2 separate regions of the Homo sapiens genome follow, and region 2 is linked to region 1. The links are contacts of gene promoters, found by promoter capture Hi-C in blood cells and fetal thymus (Javierre and others, 2016). All regions are on one chromosome and are shown on one strand. Each heading gives the region's core, a stretch centred on a gene start or on the middle of the fragment in contact. The rest is flanking DNA. Distances are from core to core; before and after follow the strand shown.

Region 1 (3,966 bases), core at 148-2,647:
AACTCCCGGGCTCAAGTGATCCTCACACCTCAGCCTCCCGAGTAGCTGGGACTACAGGCACACACCACTGCACCTGGCTAATGTTTAAATTTTTTTGTAGAGACAGTGGTCTCATTGTGTTGCCCAGGCTGGTCTTGAACTCCAGGGCTCAAGCGATCCTCCCACCTCAGCCTCCCAAAGTATTGAGATTACAGGTGAGAGCCACCACGCCTGGCTGTGAACAAGTTTTTTGATGGCCTACCATGTGCCTTGCACTCTGCTGCATGCTATGGGGTATAGAGTAAGGCAAGGTCATGACCCTGCGCTCAGAGTTTCTGTTCAAGTGATAAAATATGCAAACGGAAAAATAATAGATACTTAATCTAGTGCAACAAGAGCGAAACTCCGTCTCAAAAATTAAATTAAGTTAAATTAAATAAATAAATAAATACTGCAATGAAGTATGTGAGGAAGTTGCCTCCACCCTAGGAAGGGAAATGATAATTACAATTCCTTACATGTCTAACAGCAGTGTTACAGATTGCAAAGCGCTTTGGTGCTTAGCATCTCAGCTAACCATTGGAACAGTAATTTGGTAGAATGCAGATTATCACACTCACTTGACTGGATGTTACAAATACTAAAAGCTATAAAGCACCAGGCACTCTTCCCAACGAAAGGGTGGGATGGGATAGTTCATAGGTAAACCCACCGAGGGTTGGCGACTAACCTAAAGGATTAACAGCACCGTTTTTGTTTTTTGTTTTTAACACTCAATACGTCCTAGATCCTGTGCTAAGGGATTTACAGACATCATCTAATTTGATTCCCACCTGTCTATGAGGGAGGTACTGTTATTATCCCCATTTCACAGAGGACAAAAGTGAAACACAGAGGTAACGGGTAAGGTCACCTTGCCAGTGGGGGCGAGACGTGAACCTAGGCAAACTGACACAACGCCTGCACTTTCTTGTCCAAGGTCACGGCGGTGTGAGGTAGGCTGGGGAAGGGAGGGCGCTGACCTGTCAGATACTTGTTCCTGGGTGAGCTTCTTGTCGCTCTCCAGCAGGATGGACACGTAGTGGCGGATCATGTCTACGAAGAGTGATAACGATGGGTAGGACCACCCAGAGGCAGATGTTGGAGTCAAGCAACAGTTCTGGCCCTGCCATCTTCACTGAAAGCTGGCTCCCAGCCGGTGATGGGCGAGCTTCTCTTCACCGGGGCGCAGTTGCTTCTCTCTGACGTCGCCTCTGGGCCTTCTCTCGCCCCTATGCCCGGCTAGCACAGAACTCTGCTGCAGCGGTGAGCCCAGCTTATTGCCTTCAGCTGGGCTGCCCGGCCTTCCACTTCCGGCGCGGAAGTTGGCGTCACGTCATGGCGCGCCTCGGTGGCGTCAGAGCGGCGTCGGGCCTGGCGGGAAAGTCGAAAACTACGGGCGGCGACGGCTTCTCGGTGAGTAAGTGGAGCAATGGTCGTAGTCTCTCGAGGCCCCGCTCCCCTGCGGCCTAATCTCTAAGTCCGGGCCGCGGTCGGCGTTCTCCTCTGGGGCTCCGCGCCCCGAACCTTGGCTTCCTCATCTGCCCTGAGATGGGATAATCCCCACAGGTACCTTTCTGCGTCATTAAAATGCGGAAACGAGAAAGGCTTTTACCCTCACCCGCTTCCCGATGAACTAATCCAGGCAGTCGGCCTCATCTCACTTCTGTTGGGCTTTTCTGGAAGCCAGATGGTATCGCACGTGTTAAAGGCGGGTGCCTGGAAGCCGGACGTGCTGACAAGACTTAGTTTTTCCATCTGCAAGATGGCTGATAATGGTTATCCGTATTAACCGAAGCGGCGATAAATAAAAAGTTTAGCACAGGGCCCGGTACCTCGTAAATGTTAACCATTATTAGAAGTCATTATAATCATCAAGAGTAAGTATAGGTGGTGAAGAGCGCAGGTGCTGAAGCCAGACTCCGAGTTAGAATCCCAGTTCTGCCCGTGATGATGAGAATAATGGTACCCACCTCAAAAAGTTTTGTGGGAAATAAATGAATTATTAAATATAAAGCACTTGAAACAGTTCTTGTTAGCTTTTAGCATTTCCCCTGCACTGCGAGCTTTTTTCACTCTGAATATTCTCAGAAATTTTCCTTATGCCGGTAACTATGCTGGGCATTAGGGACATTGAGTAAGTGAGACTGGGTTCCTGCTCTCAAAGAGCCCCAGTCTAGTGTGAGGTAAGGGCCCCTAGGTATACCCTGTGGAGCAGGGAAGCTGCAGTAGCAAACTCCCTTAGGGATAGGAGGAACACTTTTCAAGGAAGATGACATTCGATTGAATGTTTAGATCTGAGTAGGAATTTCCAGGCAAATAAGAGCACTTCAGATGAAAAGAACACCTTTGTGCAAAGGCACTGAGACCACGAAGGTTCTGATTTACAAGATTAAAAGGTCATGTGATTCAGGCACTTCCCCCACCTCTGCTGTCTGATTTCTAACTCCACATCTCCTTGTTTCAGTATGAGTATCTATTTGCCTGGACTCCTCTTCTCCTACCCCTTCTACTGGCTAACTGCTGTTTCAGCCCTCAAGTCCCTGCCTAAAAATCACTTCTTCAGGCCGGGCGCGGTTGGCTCACGCCTGTAATCCCAGCACTTTGGGAGTCCGAGGCGGGCGGATTATGAGGTTATGAGATCAAGACTATCCTGGGTAACACGGTGAAACCCCGTCTCTACTAAAAATACAAAAAATTAGCCGGGCGTGGTGGCGGGCGCCTGTAGTCCCAGCTACTTGGGAAGCTGAGGCAGGAGAATGGTGTGAACCCGGGAGGTGGAGCTTGCAGTGAGCCGAGGCTGCACCACTGCACTCCAGCCTGGGTGACAGAGTGAGACTCCGTCTCAAAAAAAAAAAAAAAAAAAATCACTTCTTTAGGCCGGGCGGCTCACACCTGTAATCCCAGCACTTTGGGAGGCCGAGGTGGGTGGATCACTTGAGGTCAGGAGTTTGAGACCAGCCTAGCCGACATGGTGAAACCCTGTCTCTACTAAAAAAAAAAAAAAAAAAATTCAAGGAGATTGTCCCTAAGAAATGGTCCTTGCTTCTCTTTACCACCCTTACTAGCAACTAGACTAAATTTCCTAGTAAGCCCTCATAGAACCTGTACTTTTATAGCACTTACATAACTGTAGTTCAGTACATTAAGGCTATTTGTTACCATACTGTAAATTCCCTGAGGACAGGGATCATGTCTGTCTAGTTCACAGTTGTAACCCCAGCACCTAGCACAGTCCCTAACATATAGTATTGAAATCATGAATTAAAGGACAGGTACGTTGGGGATAGATAATGGAGGGTCTTGAATCTCAGATGGAGAGTGATGGGTTTTATCCTTCAGCAACAGCGAAGTAGTCTGCCTAAAGAGGTAACTAAGACTTGAAAGGAAGGTAGTATTGGCTAGATGTAAGAGTTGAAATTTGCTTAGCACCTAGGTTTAGGTAGCATTAATATGGAGATGTGAGCCCCTCTGATTTTGGATAGAGCAGTTTTCTTTGAACAATAGCTTTAACTTCTCAGAATTTATCTTCTAGAGGGTAACTTCTGTTTCCCGATTTTGCTCTAGGAAGTAATTTAAGTGCACAAGACATTGGTCAAAATGGTTTCCAAAAGAAGACTGTCAAAATCTGAGGATAAAGAGAGCCTGACAGAAGATGCCTCCAGTAAGTATCTAGTCATTTGTTGCTTTATTTCCTGTAGCAATGTGTGAGGCATGTGAGAGATATAAAGTTCCTGCTTTTCAAGTGCTGAGAATCTTCAAAGTGTAATGAATGGAGTGCACAGAATTAAGGGAGAAATATCAGATTTGGGACTGAGTTTTTGCCTCGAATTCTGCGTATAACTTTGAGTATGACCACAGCCTCTGGACCTCAGTCTCCACATCCATAAGAGGAATTAGTGTTACAGACTTTTTCTGCTATACATCATTTAGGTGTTGAGACACAAA
Region 2 (3,905 bases), core at 939-3,438, 150 kb before region 1:
TCCCTCATGGATTTGCTGGGTGATTGAGAGCACCCACTATGTGCCTCAGTTCTCTCACCTATTAATTTGGTATAATAACCCCCACTTCCCAAAGTTGTTGTGAGGCTTACATGAGATCAGGAGTAAAAGCACCAAGCATAGTGTCTACTCCTTTTTATGCATGGTGTGGTGGTGGTGTAAGCAGCAGCATTAATATCACCCAGGGACTTCTTGGCAGTGCAAAATCTCGGGTCCCACTCCAGACCTCCTGAATCAGAATCTGCACTTGAACAAGGTCCCCTGTGACCTGTATACCCATTAAAGTTTGAGAAGTTCTGGCTTACAGCTCATAGGTGGCTCTCTTTCCATTCTGCCCATGACTTTCCTCACCTGGAGAGGGACTTGGGGTAGAGAAGGCTAAGGGACTTCATGGCGTATTCCATCCTTGTCAGCTGGACTGCGTTGGACCTGGGAAGGAGGCAGAAACAATTCATCAGGGTGAGATGAGAGGGTTCCCATCTCTCTCATTGTTAGGCAAGGTGCAACCCAACCCCTGTTCAGCAACCTTCCTCCCTATTCTTCTATCCCAACTCACACATACCTCCCCCAGCCCTTCTCCTGTCCGGCCCCATGCATGCCAACCAAGACCAAGCTGGAGACCCCACCCCTCTCCCCACCGGGTGCTCAGGCTCAGCCTCACTCAGCAGCTGCTGCTCCTGCCCCAGTCCCACTCACTCCATGTTTCTCATCCCCTGGCTCTGGTCACACTGAGCAGATAACCCAACTCAGGGCTGAAGAAGCCTTGCCCGATTTGTTCCTGTCCATGGGGACAGAGTCCACTTTACGCTGGCAGGAGGTGAGTCACACCACCTCACACTTCTGGGGACCGTTCCCTCACCTCTAGTCCAGAGACCTCACAGGCAGGCAGCCCAGTCAAAGCCTCCTCTCTCCCATGGGTCCTTGAGCAATCCGAGCCCCTTCCTGAGGCTTCACAGTGGCCAAAAGAACATTCTGTGATGATAGAGGCATGCCTTGTACATACTCTCCAATACCATTGCTACTAGCCCCATGTGGCTATTGAGTATTTGAAACATAACTAGTGTGATTCAGGAGCTGAATTTTTTTTTTTTTTGAGTTTCGCTCTTGTCACCCAGGCTGGAGTGCAATGGGGCGATCTTGCTCACTACAACCTCCGCCTCCTGGGTTCAAGCAATTATCCTGCCTCAGCCTCCCCCGTAGCTGGGATTACAGGCACCTGCCACCACGCCCAGCTAATTTTTAGTTTAGTTTCGTTTTGTTTGGATTTTTAGTAGAGACTGGGTTTCACCATGTTGGCTAGGCTGGTCTTGAACTCCTGACCTCAGGTGATCTCCCTGTCTTGGCCTCCCAAAGTGCGGGGATTACAGGCGTGAGCCACTGCACCTGGCACAGGAGCTGTATTTTTTACTTTATTGAATTTTAACTAATTTAAATTTAAATAGCCACATTGCCATGTGGCTGTTGGCACCCATATTAGATCACAGGTCTAAGCAGATAGCCCTGGGCTCATCTGTCACCACTTTTTCTCCTAAACCTCTGTGCTCCAACTCTTGAAGGGCCCAACCCTTTGCACAGATAGTTCCCTCCACCTGTAGTGCCCTTCTCTGATCCAGGACGAAATTTTTGCAGCCTTGAAGCCTCAGTTTCATTGCTTTCCACTCTTTAAAAGGAAAGTCTTCTTAGACCACTCCCAAAATTATTACACCTTCATCCTGCTCTTCCTAGCCAAGGGTGCCTCTGGGTCTGTTTCTGCTGTAGCCCCTCAGTCCCTGGATGCCTGGCCCTGAGGTCCTCTTCCTATTCGAAGCTCCCGGCACAGGTAGGGCTTCGCAGAGCAAGGGGCACAAGGGGTGGACATAAAACAAAAGTCCCCTTGCCAGCTGGGGACAATCACTCTTTGCTTTTAACAATTTGGGGGACTTTCCAGACCAGGCCCCACAGAGGCAGAAAGCCCCTTTCCCACTTAGCACTGCAGAAGCTCTAGTCCTAGCTACGTGGGAGGCTGAGGCAGGAGGATTCTGCTTGCCTCAGCCTCACCCACTTCGTATCCCTAGCAAAACTCTGCCAAGAGCTACCTAACCTGCTCTCCAGGAGCAAAGAAAAAAAAATCCCCAAACCCAAAACAATAACAAACTCCTTACCTCCCCCTCACAGCCTCCTGGAAATACTGCCCTGTCCCGCCCAGCCCTCCCTTCATTTATTTCCAGCCCCCATGAAGCTCCTCCCCAGCCTTCAGCCCCAGCTGGGGAAAAGAGCTTGGGGTGAGAGCTGCAAGCCAGCCTGACTTCCAGAAAAGGCCTAAAAGGAGGGGAGAAGGCATGTTTCGAAAGCTTTGGCAAAATGGATGGCCCATGACATGAGATCAAGCACAGAGGGCACAGAAAGCAGGCAGATGTGGGTTGTGGTCCCAACTCCACCCCATATCAGCTTGCTTGAGCTTAGACAGATCACTTGACTTCTGTGAGCCCGTTTCTCTTCTCTGTGTAATGACGATAATGATTCTTGTTTTATAGGGTAGTGGTGAGGATTAGTGACAATAAAAGTAAAGGGGCACAGTGGCTCATGCCTATAATCCCAGTGTTTTGGGAGGCTGAGGCGGGAGGATTGCTTGAGGACAGGGGTTGGAGGACAGCCTGGGCAATAGAGTGAGACCCTGTCTCTGAAAAAAAAAAAAAAAAAGAAAAGAAAAGAAAAAAGAAAAAAGTAGCCTGGGTGCCGTGGCTCACGCCTGTAATCCCAGCACTTTGGGAGGCCGAGGCAGGTGGATCACTTGAGGTCAGGAGTTTGAGACCAGCATGGCCAACATGGTGAAGCCCCGTCTCTACTAAAAATAGAAAAATGAGCCAGGCGTGGTGGTGTGTGCCTGTAATCCCAGCTATCTGGGAGGCTGAGGCAGGAGAATCGCTTGAGCCTGGGAGGCAGAGGTTGCGGTGAGCTTAGATCACACCACTGCACTCCATTCTGGGTGACAGAGTGAGACCCTGTCTCAAAAAAAAAAAAAAAAAAAAAAAAGTCCGGGCACGGTGGCTCACACCTCTAATCCCAGAACTTTGGGAGGCCGAGGTGGGCAGATCACAAGGTCAAGAGTTCGAGACCAGCTTGGTCAATATGGCGAAAACCCCATCTCTACTAAATATACAAAAATTAGCCGTGCGTGGTGGTGGGTGCCTGAAATCCCAGCTACTCAGGAGGCTGAGGCAGGAGAATCATTTGAACCCGGGAGGCAGAGGTTGCAGTGAGCCGAGATCACGCCACTGCACTCCAGCCTGGGTGACAGAGTGAGACTCTGTCTCAAAAAAATAAAAATAAATAAAAATAAAGGCTTTGCAAACATAAACACTCAATGGATCGAAGTGATTATTAGTATTACTGATAATTTTTTATTTTTATTTTATTATTTTTAATTTTTTTGTCTTTTTCTCAATTTGATAATGTACATATTAAATCATAGCAGAGAGTAAGACAAGCTGAAATGTGGAGTGGTTAAGAGTGTAAGATCTCTGACCCAGCAGTTCCACTTCTGTGTGTGTGCGTGTGGTGTATGTGTGTCATACAGAGCACACCTGTTGTCCCAGCTGCTCAGAAGGAGGCTGATGCAGGAGGATCACTTGAGCCCAGGAATTAAAATTTAGCCTGAGTAACATAGGGAGACCCTGTCTTTACAAAAGAAAAGAAACAAAACCAAAACCAAACAAAATTACATATATATGTGTATATATATACACACACACATATATATATACACATACATATCCAAAAGAAATGAAAAATATGTCTACACAAAAACTTGTATGTGAATATCCATAGGATTATTCGTAATAGCCAAAAGGTAGAAACACATGAATGTTCAATTTATAAATCGATTTTTTAAATGTGCCTATCCATAC

Evidence for each region. The method cuts DNA at HindIII sites, captures the fragments that hold promoters and counts their contacts. A CHiCAGO score of 5 or more calls a contact.
Region 2: the fragment with the promoter of CIDEC here is called in contact with the fragment with the promoter of FANCD2 in region 1 in 1 of 17 cell types (megakaryocytes); the score reaches 5.2 in megakaryocytes.

Annotation. Positions count from the first base shown.
Region 1 is chr3:10,025,040-10,029,005 of GRCh38, forward strand. FANCD2 (FA complementation group D2) reads left to right here and starts at 1,398. Exons shown (of 44, transcript NM_001018115.3): 1 at 1,398-1,434; 2 at 3,586-3,682. The coding sequence starts at 3,619. It also overlaps the pseudogene CIDECP1. RefSeq lists enhancers at 1-225, 861-1,496, 1,497-2,131. The HindIII fragment of the contact is 7,543 bases long and covers 1-3,966 here.
Region 2 is chr3:9,878,065-9,881,969 of GRCh38, forward strand. It overlaps CIDEC (cell death inducing DFFA like effector c), which reads right to left and starts at 2,189. Exons shown (of 7, transcript NM_001321142.2): 1 at 2,160-2,189; 2 at 878-990; 3 at 370-447. The coding sequence starts at 422. The HindIII fragment of the contact is 5,760 bases long and covers 1-2,346 here.